Regions from separate parts of the Homo sapiens genome. Here region 2 is linked to region 1. Evidence: promoter capture Hi-C in 16 types of primary human blood cells and fetal thymus (Javierre and others, 2016). All regions are on one chromosome and are shown on one strand. The core of a region is centred on a gene start or on the middle of the fragment in contact, and the rest is flanking DNA. Distances in the headings are between cores, read along the strand shown. Region 1 holds the start of CYB5R1 (cytochrome b5 reductase 1). Region 2 has its middle 15 kb from the start of FMOD.

Region 1 (6,686 bases), core at 1,508-4,007:
AGTCTTCCTCCAAGCTTCTTTCTGGATATCTTATCTAAAAAGGGCCACTGAGTTTTACATCCTAATTCAGAATTATAAAACACAGGTTTGAAATTCTACTTCCCCCTCACACTACATTATATATATATATTTTTTTAAACAGGGTCTTGCTCTATTGCCCAGGCTGGAGTGCAGTGGCGCAATCATGGCTCACTGCAGCGTTGATCTCCCAGGCTCAAGCAATACCCCCACCTCAGCCTCCTTAGTATCTAGGACTACAGGCCAGCGCCATCGCACTTGGCTAATTTTTGTATTTTTGTAAAGACAGGATTTTGCCATGTTGCCCAGGCTGGTCTCAAACTCCTGGGCTCAAGTGATCCATCCAGCCTCCCAAAGTGATGGGATTACAGGCGTGAACCCAGCCTGTTCTATTCTTTATTGTATACCCAGGAGGAAATCCTAAACTTAAAAGATTGGGTTAAATAAAAATTCAGAAATGCCTATCTTTTCCTCCAAACTAGGAGTAATGTAAGATTACCATGAGTCGTGGTGGAGTGGAGTTCAATTCACCACAGAATCTGAGACAGGAAGACCTGCCAGGCCATCAGCCCCTTCCCACCACTCCTGCAGCATTCATTTTCAGGAGCAAAAGAGCCTTCCCACAATTACTGAGTCCAACACTTAGTTTCCAGGATAAGCCCACACCCAACCATTCTGTCCTGTGGTTCCCAGTGATACACTCACACTTGTTAGAATGTGCCACTTTGGGGTTCAGAAAATGCAATCACTGAGAGAAGCCCGAGTTGTAGTTATGCTCTCCTTTCGTTCCATACTTCCCCCTCTCTTGCCACATCTATCCACTAGAGGGAGGAAGGCCTAGAACCTCTTTAGCCAGAGTGGAGCAGTGGCAAGGATCAGTAGTGTGGCTTCTTAACCAAGCCAGCAGTGGGGATGTCAGAAGCACCGGAACATAATCGCCTCATTCTCTCGGAACAGAAAAGAGGAAGGGTCCCTTCCTTCCCCTTTTCAACCCTCTCTGCATGGATTGGCATGTCACCATGATCTGGTGCACTCACTTCCCTCAAGTCAGTGTGCAGGCTGCTTAAAAAATTCAGAGGAACATGTACTGGGGTCTTAGGAACATTTTCAGCCAGTGGAGAGGAAAAGGAAAACTAAGTATCTCTTGGATCATTCACAGAGTTCACCAAATACAACTGAAAACTGGGGGCTCTAATGTCCCTGCTGCCCTGATGGTATTAGTTTAAGATGTTGACACTGACATCTGCAGAGATCTCATCCATCACGGTATATCAAAGAGCAAATGTCATTCTAGTTGAGAAACTCATGTATGAGAAAGAATGGTCATCTTGGGAAATCTGTAGCTCCAGCGGCTCCTGATGTTTTTTCCTGCCTCCTCCTGTCCCATGCTTGTGCCCCAGGCAGAGCTCATTCCTAAAACCATAGCTGACCCTCTGTGCTGTCTTTTAAGTTATAATAGTAGCTGCCAACTGTTGAATATTTTGCTTTATGACAGGCACTACACTAAGCACGTTAACATATCTCACTGAAGCCTCACACCAAAGCTATGAACTAGATACAATCTATCTGTAGATAATAATATATATCCATCTGTAGATATCCATCTTATATCCATCTGTAGATGAAGAAACTCAGGTTGAGTAAGCTATCTAAGGTCACAGAGCCAATAAGTGCTAGAGGCAAGATTCTTATTCTGTACACTCTGCCTCCAAAGCCCACTTCTTTGACCCTAAGGGCACAAGAACCCAAATCAGGATGTGAAGCTTGGTCTTTGAAACCAAAGGAAGCTCCTGAATCATCCTGATAGGCTGACGGCTTGGCGCTGTAAACAAAATCAGTCTTTTGTCAAAAGGAAATGAAGTTGCCATGCCACTGTTCACTCCTGTAAGAGACTCCTCTGGGCTGTTCCATTCTCTTGCTGCAATTCAGCCGGTTGAAAAACTAAGGTGACTGCACAATGATTAACTTCAGGCCCTTCTGCTCTACTTTGAGCCTGTCTCTGGTTCATCGTTACACTCTCCGCTCAGCACCCGCAGACTCAAGAGATTTCCAATCCCCCAATTTAGCGTGGTTCTACCTTAGGCAGAACTCCCATCCAGTTCGGATATAAGCGGGTCGAAGTGGCAGGGACCACCTCGCTGGGAGGAGAGGCTGGAGCTGCGGTCTTAAAAGATCTTGGGGCCGGGCGCGATGGCTCACGCCTGTAATCCCAACACGTTGGGAGGCCGAAGCGGGTAGATTATTTGAGCCCTGGAGCTCGAGACCACCCTGACCAACACGGTGAAACCCAGTCTGTACTAAAAATACAAAAAAAAAATTAGCCGGGCGTGGTGGCGCACGCCAGTAGTCCCAGATACTCGGGAGGCGGAGCCAGGAGAACCACTTGAAACTGGGAGGCGGAGGTTGCAGTAACCGAGATCGCGCCACTGCACTCCAGCCTGGGCGACAGAGCGAGGCTCCGACTCAAAAAAAAAAAAAAAAGTATTGAATAAGCACCGGAGACCCTGAGCCACCGAGTAGCGGAGGGAAAGGGTGGCGCGCAGAGGGGCCCAGCCCCGCCTCTGCCGGACCCCGCCCCCAAAAGGCCCCGCCGCCGCCACCTCCTGCTAGGCCCCGCCCCCGACAGACACCCCCCCCCCCCCCCGCCAGGCCCCGCCTCCTGCCCCCCCAGCCGCGAGGTCCTGCCTCCTGCCCGGCCCCGCCCCCGGCCTGCCCCGCCCTCCGACCCGCCCCGCGGCGCATTGTGGGATCTGTCGGCTTGTCAGGTGGTGGAGGAAAAGGCGCTCCGTCATGGGGATCCAGACGGTAAGACCCTCATTCAGTATCCTCCACTGGGGGACCCCTCCCCATCTGGTTCTGGCCACTCAGCTCCGGACCAGGGGCTGTCGCTGCCGACCCCGCCCCGCAGGGCTCTGGGCCCACCGTGGATGCTGGGGTCCCGATCCCGCACATCCGGGCTCGGGACTCCGCCAGGTTACCCCTCTGCCCTTGGCATGCCTCCGCGCTGGAGCTCGGGATCGCCACCCCTGGGACGGTCACCACCCAAGCCCCGGGCTCTTACCCAGCCTGGCGGTCACGCTGCCTCCTCTACCCACAGAGCCCCGTCCTGCTGGCCTCCCTGGGGGTGGGGCTGGTCACTCTGCTCGGCCTGGCTGTGGGCTCCTACTTGGTTCGGAGGTCCCGCCGGCCTCAGGTCACTCTCCTGGACCCCAATGAAAAGTACCTGCTACGACTGCTAGACAAGACGGTAAGTTGGGGAAGAAAGGGCCAGGGTGAAGGAGGGGACCAGAGTGCTCCTGGCATGGAGGGTACAGCACCCACGGTGGTTGGGATGTCCAAGGGACGTGGCAGCGCCAGGCGCGCTTGGTGAAACACTTGTGTCCTCCACCCTCCAGACTGTGAGCCACAACACCAAGAGGTTCCGCTTTGCCCTGCCCACCGCCCACCACACTCTGGGGCTGCCTGTGGGTAAGGAAAGTGTGGAATGGGCTCCTTTCCCTGGTATCCTCAGAAGGTGACTCCCCTCCTGGGATCTCATGAAACACGCTGCTTCAACCGGTTTGCTCCACACACCATTCCCCTTCCCCCACTTGGCTCTGCATCCTCCAAGCTGTGAGGTGCCACTGGGCCCCTCTAGAGTGTGGCTTCCATGACCCCCATCCAGCTTTAACACTCAACAGTCTTGCCTCTTCCCTGCAGGATTTGCTAATTACTCCCTCTGAGCAAGCACTACTAACTTTTTCCCATTGCCCAGACCCTTTTGGCTCATCTGTCAAGGTCCTGGCAGTAACTGGCAGGAAACGCTGGAAATAAGTGTTTCCTCAACTGGGCGCTTATAAGAGATCCAACTGAGGGCTCAATGGGGCAAATCTTCCCTGCCTTGTAGCTCCTTGGGACCACAGCAGGAAGCAAGACATCTTGTTCTCTCAAATCTCTTTGAGTATTTTGAGGGATGCAGCACATCACAGACAACCCTTATGTAGCTCTCTGCACGGTCCCCAGGCAAACATATCTACCTCTCCACCCGAATTGATGGCAGCCTGGTCATCAGGCCATACACTCCTGTCACCAGTGATGAGGATCAAGGCTATGTGGATCTTGTCATCAAGGTAAGGGGCTAGGAAGGGACCCAGGGGCTGCTTACCCATTCTTTCTGGGATTTGTAGAAATTTCTAAGATTTGCCTGACAGCAGGAAATGGTATGTACTCTGTGGATGTGAAGAAAGTATGAGCTACTCAGGAGACTGAGGCAGGAGACTCACTTGAACCCAGGAGGCGGAGGTTGCAGTGAGCCAAGATTGCGCCACTGCACTCAAGCCTGGGCAGCAAGAGCAAAACTCTGACTCAAAAAAAAAAAAGAAAGAAAGAAAGTATGTAGACGGGGAAAAGATAGCACATATCTGATCCCTGCCCCAGCCTCAGGGAGGTTTAGTCAACATGGGGCTCAGAAACCAGTGACATTCCAAATAAGGTATTTTTCTCTCTGTCTTGTAAGGTCTACCTGAAGGGTGTGCACCCCAAATTTCCTGAGGGAGGGAAGATGTCTCAGTACCTGGATAGCCTGAAGGTTGGGGATGTGGTGGAGTTTCGGGGGCCAAGCGGGTTGCTCACTTACACTGGAAAAGGTAATGACCTGTCTTCTCCTTGAGCCTGTCTCCCACTTTATCAGTTCCCATAGTCCTCTTGGCACAGTATGGCTGTGTGTACACATGTGTATGCACGTAAGGGCCAGGGCCGCCCTTCCTTCTAAACATAGCGCTGATACAATAGAAAGGCATGTTTCTCAGCCCCATTTGCCACAGGAAGCAGTTCCTCCTCCACTTGAATTCCCTAGCCATGGCAGCTGTGGAGATTACTAAAGCAAACATGTGCCCCTCTTCCCCACCTTCAAAAATTTGCCCCCCTGGGTGAGCTGTGGAGTGAGCCAGAGATAGCTTTCAGCCCTTCCCATGGGAACAGCTGGGTGCATTAGCAAGTCCCTGGAGCTGCTGTGTGCCACTTGGGAAAATAGATTCACACCTGGCTCTGTGCCTGTCTCCTTCACCAGGGAGTGACACTTTGCCAGAAGCAGCTGATACATTGTGTGGCGCTGAACTGACTCACAGATAGCCCTGGCCCCATTGTCCCTCAACTATATTATTGTCAGGGCTGGCTCAACTCAAGCTTCCACCCAAGCTCCAGGATCAGATGTCATAGCAGCTGCTCAACTGGCCTCAGGCATATTTTCAACTCTGCATTTGTTTTCTAAGTTCGCTGTATTGACTTTATTCTTCCACTGCTCTCTTCACCTGACCTCTCAGGGCATTTTAACATTCAGCCCAACAAGAAATCTCCACCAGAACCCCGAGTGGCGAAGAAACTGGGAATGATTGCCGGCGGGACAGGTGCATTACACTGAGGGCCTTTCTCTCCCACCATTGTTGACTGTTGCCATGCAAATTCCTAGGTGACCCTCTGAAGACTGGTAACCATAGCCAAGCTGTTGTTCATCAGGGGATTTCCAGCAATGCTTAGAACTCCCTAGTATCTGAAAAACAAAATCATAAGCAGGTAGAAACCAAAAAAAATTTTAACTGATGGAATTAGAGAAACAAATTAAATGAGCTTTCCTCATTTTGAATGGATCTAATAGTTTTAGGTGAGAGAAGAGAGAAGCAGCTAGGAATGACTAGCTAGGAAGAAAGAAAATTAGCATTGGACACTACTGTGCATTAGACACTGTGTAGTCTAATACACTACTATATATTAGACACAAAAATTAGACACATATATAGGTATCTATGAAGTAGGTACTAGCCTTTTCCTTTTACAGAGAGACAATGGGGTTCCAGAGAGGCTAAATGATTTCCACAGGGTTATTTCACTGGTAATGGCCTGGAGCAAAATTAGTATTTGGCTCTGCCTAGTGCCTAAGTACATGCACTTAACCTCTGCAAATACAGTGTTCTAGAACCCTCATCATTGAATCCGGAGGTACTTGTAGTCATTTGTGACACTGGAGTCCTAGCCTCCAAAGGACTTTCAGAAGAGTCTTAGATTAGTTCCTAAGAAAGATTTCTACAATATGAACTTAGATGAATTTGAAGGGTGCCCGGAAATACAGATGTTGGAGAATATGCAGGAAGAGTTTAGAGGATGAGAATGCTAAAGGAAAATGGAGTGGAGTGGTGAATGAGCAGAATGAAGATGAAAGGGCTGGTCAGCTAAGGAGCCAGGACAGGGCAGAGAGTGTGGCCACTACATTTCACTGTGGGGTATCTTCATGCAGGAATCACCCCAATGCTACAGCTGATCCGGGCCATCCTGAAAGTCCCTGAAGATCCAACCCAGTGCTTTCTGCTTTTTGCCAACCAGGTTGGTTTGTTTTCCTCCACCCTAAGACTTCAAAGTTGCTGTGTGGGTAGGGCTGAGAGACGTGGTATGGATGGGCAGAACTGGCCCAGTGCCCTGTTTTAGCCTCTGCCCAAGGTCCCCTCTGTAAGGCACAGGGTCCTCTTTCAATAAGGAGGAAAAGGACAGAGCACTGAATCAAATTCCTTCCCTGGTCCCCAAGGAAAGAAGAAAACTTTTAAGGTATCTAGTCTGGAGCACAGAAACTTAGATCTTCTTGGTTAAATATTCATCTTTGTTCCTTCATAATGTGTAGATAAAGGCTGTTCCCCTCTTCT
Region 2 (6,016 bases), core at 1,054-3,553, 370 kb before region 1:
AGAGAACAAAAGCAAACAGCCCCTGCCCTTGGGGGCTTGTAGTCCAGTGCAGTGACAGTCCTTGAACAACGGCAAAAAAATCACACTGAGGATCATGTAGTTAGACTGAGAAAGAGCTGTGACGATGAGCATAGGTCTACACCAGGATTATCAAGGAGCCTGGCCTAGATACTCTGAGATACAGAGTGAGAGCATAGTAATCCAGACGAAGAGATGGAAGGGCAGGTCCAGGCAAAGATAGCAGCATGCATACACACCCTAATGCACAAGGAAGCTTCTGAGGCTCTAGACAGCGAAAATGGCTGCAGCACAGAGAGAAAGGGAGAGAGTTTCAGTTGATCACGCTGATGCAGTAGGCAGGGGTCAAAGGCAGTAGGCTTTGTTCTCTTATTTCAGACCCAAGTACGAAGAAACTTAATTACCACCGTCCCAAACCCCATGTCCCAGGGCCTGCCTTACATGCAGGCTCACAGTTCTGCCTTCTAGCCACTAGTGGGCAGCATCTCATCTCGCACCACCAGCCTTTTCTGAAACCTTTAAATCGCAGCCCACTTAGCCCACTTTTTCCCAACTTCCTTTTTTTTTTTTTTTTTTTTTTTGAGAAGGAATCTCGCTCTGTCGCCCAGGCTGGAGTGCAGTGCCACAATCTCGGCTCACTGCAACCTCCGCCTCCCGGGTTCAAGCGATTCTCCTGTCTCAGCCTCCTGAGTAGCTGGGATTACAGGTGTGCGCCACCACGCCCGGCTAATTTTTATATTTTTAGTAGAGACAGTGTTTCACTATGTTGGTCAGGCTGGTCTCGAACTCCTGACCTCATGATCCGCCCACCTCGACCTCCTAAAGTGCTGGAATTACAGGCGTGATCCACCACTCCCGGCCTTTTTTTTTTTTTTTTTTTTGAAACAGGGTCTCACTCTCACCCAGGCTGGAGTGCAGTGGCGCGATCTCAGGTCATTGCAACCTCCACCTCCTGGGTTCAAACAACCCTCCTGCCTGCCTCAGCCTCCCAAGTAGCTGGGACTGCAGGCATGTACCACCATACCTAACTTTTGGCTTTTTTGTAGAGATGGGGTTTCATCATGTCGCCCAAGCTGGTCTCCGACTCCTGGACATAAGCGATCTGCCCGCCTAGGCCACATGCCTAGGCTTACAAAGACTTTGTAAAGGATTACAAAGGAAACTAATTACATTGAAGTACAGTTACCAAAATATAAAACATATACATTTTTGATATAATAATATATATGTTTCTTTATTAAGTCGATGAATAACAAGATTTAGCAACAGGTCTAGTTAATTATAGTCATTTCAAACTATTGATGCATGTAAATGGCATATCAAACTATTTTAACAACTGTAATGTGATATAAAAATATCTTGGCCGGGCGCGGTGGCTGGCCGGGCGCGGTGGCTCATGCCTGTAATCACAGCACTTTGGGAGGCCGAAGCGGGCGGATCACGAGGTCAGGAAATAGAGAACATCCTGGCTAACACGGTGAAACCCCGTCTCTACTAAAAAATACAAAAAAAATAGCTGGGCGTGGTGGTGGGTGCCTGTAGGCCCAGCTACTCGGGAGGCTGAGGCAGGAGAATGGCGTGAACCCGGGAGGCGGAGCTTGCAGTGAGCGGTCTGCACTCCAGCCTGGGCAACACAGCAAGACTCCGTCTCAAAAAAAAAAAAAAAATCTGTGGGCCGGGTGCTCTGGCTCACACCTGTAATTCCAACACTTTGGGAGGCTCAGGCGGATGGATCACTTGAGGTCAAGAGTTCAAGACCAGCCTGGCCAACATGATAAAACCCTGTCTCCACTAAAAATACAAAGATTAGCTGGACATGGTGGCGCATGCCTGTAGTCCCAGCTACTCAGGAGGCTGAGGCAGGAGAATTGCTTGAACCTGGGAGGCGGAGGCTGCAGTGAGCCAAGATAGAGCCACTGTACTCCAGCCTGGGCAACAGCGAGACTTCATCTCAAAAAATAAAAAATAAATAAAAATATATGTGATTTCAGCTGGTGACAAAGCCTCAGGTACTGCTAATAAGGCTGTGGTTTGTTACCTTCATAATTGAAAGGAATGCTACATTTCTGTTAGATGTATGAAAAACAAAGATAGGATTTCCCATTTCTCTCTAAGTCAAGCCAAGGAAAGACAAGCAGAAACATGGATCATAGAGGGAAGGCAAGAAAAATAGGCAAATCATCGTCTTTTCTCTCTATGAACATAGCTTAATCACTCAACAAATTTTTACTGAATGCAAACCTTGAGCTAGATAATGTGTCAGTAGTTGCTGCATTTAGTATGTGAAAGTTGAATGTAAAGTTCTCAAGGTTCTTGCCATGGCATGTGATAGAAATAATAATAACTAACATTTGTTTTACCTTAACAACTTAAAAGACACCTAGTTCATTCAAGAACCCATGAGGTAGTTTGCTATAAGTGCCAATTAAGGCATAGGGACAAAATGTTCATTTTTTTTTTCCAAGGGTGGGGAATGATGAGGGGCAGGGTAGCCAGGAATGCTGCAGAACAGCCCCAAGCTCCCTCTCACTGGGGGCTTGCAATGCACTTCTTTGTTAGCTTTGTTTGCTAGCTCAGCCATTTATTCTACTAAGCACTCAGATGCAGGGTCCACAGTTGATGTATATCATCAGGAGACTCAGTATCCTGTGTAGACCTCAAACTCTCCCAGAAATTCTTCTGCCTCAGACAGATGGGAGCTAGTAGACATGACTCCTGTTGCCAGCTGAGCCTCTGGGTACCTAGGCTAGAAAGTTGTGCCCAGATGGAGCAAACACATTGCTCAATCTTGTAGCAGCCCAGGTTTCCAGAGTAGGAAACTTTTCTGGAAACTAGGCCATGCTCATATGTGCTGCATGAAATGGCACAATAAACTGGACCTAATCCTTTCCTGGACCGTGTGGTCCAGGGAGCAGAAGAAGGGGGAAATGAGTCCAGAAAGACTGGAATGGACAAAAGGACCAAGCAGACCATGCCCAGCCATGCTGGGCTCCAAAAGAAACTGCAAACACTAAAGATAAATGAGCTGTTTCCATCTATGTGTCCAGATTGTGAGCTACACGTAGGGGAGAAAGAACAGAAGTACATTTGACCCAGTTTAAGAAATAAAAACAGGAAATGGGTCAGAGTTCCAAGAGGCAATAAGAAGACCTACCTACATAAGCAAGAGTATTGGAAATCAGAGGGGTCAGTCTTGAACTTTCTTACAACCCACCAGAAATAGAGAATCGGCAGCTTTGTCCTTGTATTCTACCCCAATAATCCCCACATTTTCTCCACAAGTGTTCATCAGAGCCATGAGTTTTGGCAAAATAGGACTCTGGAGGCAGGCAGGGACAATAACAGAAGCATGCTATCAGTGCCAGGCTTAGCTGGCAGTCCCAGAGGTAGATCTGAGTCAGATAACAAGACCAACAATGGCAGTTTGCACAAGAAGGTGTGCGGAAAGCTATTCCAAGGAAGGAGCCAGAAAACTCAAGTCCCAAAGTAGAAACAGATATATACAATCAAGGTATACACACGGTCAAGGCGTCAGGGGCATAAGCAGTTCCAAGCCCTGTAGCAAGGGTAAGCCAGGAGCAGAGGGGATGTCCTTATGGCAGCAGGGGAGTGGACCCAGAACAGCCCTGAGGGCTTTGGCCCAGAGCAAGTGTCAGGTGGTGTTTCCTGGCCCGTCCTCCCCTAAGGGGACTCTCAGCCCATAGGCACCTTAAAATTATGAAAAGCATCTCTCATTGGCCTCACTTATTATGTTTTCTGAGCCAAAAATTATGACACATTTTAATAAATACCTATGTTTTCATAGGACAATAAAACAGACTTTTTTTTTTTTTTTGAGACAGAGTCTCGCTCTGCAACCTCCGCCTCCTGGGGTCACACCATTCTCTTTCCTCAGCCTCCTGAGTAGCTGGGGCTAGAGGCGCCCGCCACTGCACCCAGCTAATTTTTCGTTTTCGTATTTTTAGTAGGGATGGGGTTTCACCGTGTTAGCCAGGATGGTCTCGATCTCCTAACCTCGTGATCCTCCTGCCTCAGCCTCCCAAAGTGCTGGGATTACAGGCGTGAGCCACTGGGCCCGGCCAAAACAGAATATTTTTAAACATTCATGTCCTAGAAGTCCAAGAAATAATCATCAAGGACCATTTGGGGCCAGACCACCAGCTAGAGGCTGGGTTGTGTCAGTCCCAGTTCTTAGTTTGCAAACAACAGAAACTGAAGTTAGCTGATTTAAACCGAACGAGAATTCATTCGTTTGTTCGTTTAAAGGGGGATGGCATATCAGGTAGTTCTGGGAGGGCTCCAGACCAAGCTTGAGGGCATGCAATCAGAAACAACACCCAAGGACCCAAGTTCATGTCCATAAAGACCCCCCACCCCGCCCTGGCACAGACTCGGGAGCTCCATTTATGAGAACTGCTGCTGTTCCTGCCTATGGAATCTGGAGGCCACTGCCATCACTGCCCTACCGTCATCAGGGTGGGTTCCACAGGGCCTTTGCTTTATCATGTCATTAACTTTCAATTCCAAGTCAAACTGGCAGAACCAAGTCAGGTGCTAGTGCCCTACCAGCAAGTGAGACTGGGAGGTGAGTATCTGGCAATCTCATATTTAATAATAGGAGTCAGGCTCTGTCTCACATAGTGGGGAATTTCCCAAAATAAATAAAGGGCTCAGATGCCGAACAGCCAAAAAATAGAAGATTTTCCTTTCAAGAAATCTGTGGAAGGGGTTTGTGAGGTGTATTCATCTTTTTTTTCCCCCTTGATACAGGGTCTTGTTCTGTTACCCAGTCCGGAGTGCAGTGGTTCAATCGTGGTTCACTGCAGCTTTGACTTCCAGACTCAAGCAATCCTTCCACCTCAGCCTCCCAAGTAGCTAGGACCACGAGTGCCCGCCACCATGCCCAGCTAATTTGGTTTTCAATTTTTGTAGAGACAGGGTCTTGCTATGTTGCCCAGGCTGGTCTTAAGCTCTTGAGCTCAAGCCATCTTCCTGCCTCAGCCCTTCAAAGTGCTGGGATTACAGACGTGAACCACCATGCCTGGCCTTGCATTCATCCATATACCAGCCGCCAAGACAGCTCTGTGGAACTGGGTAAGAGAGACACCAACAGGGGTATAGAATGACCTTATATAAATTAGGACTGCCACATACAAACACCTCCTTCTTAATCCAGAAACATTACATCCTGGTGAAAGCTAACACTGCTTTGAATCTGGTTTCAGATCCACAGAACCCATTTCCATTTGTTCCCTAGGGCTGCCGTAACTAAGTACCCACAAACTGAGTAGCTTAAAACAATTTTTAAGATGTATTTATTTTCTCATAGTTCCAGAGGCCAGAAGTCCCAAGTCAAGGGTTGGAAGAGTCATGCTTCTTCCAAAGGCTCTAGGAATCCTTCCTTGCCTCATTCAGCTTCCGGTGGCTCCTGGTGTGCCTTGGCTTGTGCTAGTATAACTCCAGTCTTCACCTGCCTGTGTCTTCACATGGCCATCTTCTCCCTGTCTCTGTGTCTTCTGCTTCTTATAAAGACACCAGTCATAGCCGGAAGCGGTGGCTCACACCTGTAATCCCAGCACTTTGGGAGACCCAGCTGGGTGGATCACCTGAGGTCAGGAGTTCGAGACCAGCCTGGCCAACATAGTGAAACCCCATCTCTACTAAAAATACAAAATTAGCCAGCTGTCATGGCAGGTGCTTGTAATCCCAGCTACTCGGGAGGCTGAGGCAGGAGAATTGCTTGAACCCAGGAGGTGGAGGTTGCAGTGAGCTGAGATTGCGCCATTGTACTCCAGCCTGGGCAATAAGAGTGAAACTCTGTCTCAAAAACAAAAAAAAAAGACACCAGTCATCAGATTTCAGGCCCGCCCTAATTCATTAGGATCTCATCTTTTAAATTATTTTTATTTTTATTTATTACGGACACGTAATATTTGTACATATTTATCTTACGATCTCATCTTGACCCCTAATTAATTATAACTGCAAAGACCTTGTT

The links. Contacts are between HindIII fragments. The CHiCAGO score rates a contact against its expected background, and 5 or more counts as called.
Region 2: a fragment that was not itself captured here is called in contact with the fragment with the promoter of CYB5R1 in region 1 in 1 of 17 cell types (neutrophils); the score reaches 5.9 in neutrophils.

What each region holds. Positions count from the first base shown.
Region 1 is chr1:202,963,328-202,970,013 of GRCh38, reverse strand. It overlaps CYB5R1 (cytochrome b5 reductase 1), which reads left to right and starts at 2,757. Exons shown (of 9, transcript NM_016243.3): 1 at 2,757-2,823; 2 at 3,116-3,265; 3 at 3,414-3,486; 4 at 4,021-4,127; 5 at 4,514-4,643; 6 at 5,319-5,402; 7 at 6,287-6,372. The coding sequence starts at 2,809. RefSeq lists silencers at 1,659-1,953, 2,570-2,729, 2,800-2,849. The HindIII fragment of the contact is 3,400 bases long and covers 1,784-5,183 here.
Region 2 is chr1:203,333,084-203,339,099 of GRCh38, reverse strand. No RefSeq gene overlaps it. Among named protein-coding and RNA genes, the nearest start is that of FMOD, 15 kb to the left of the region's middle. The HindIII fragment of the contact is 4,053 bases long and covers 277-4,329 here.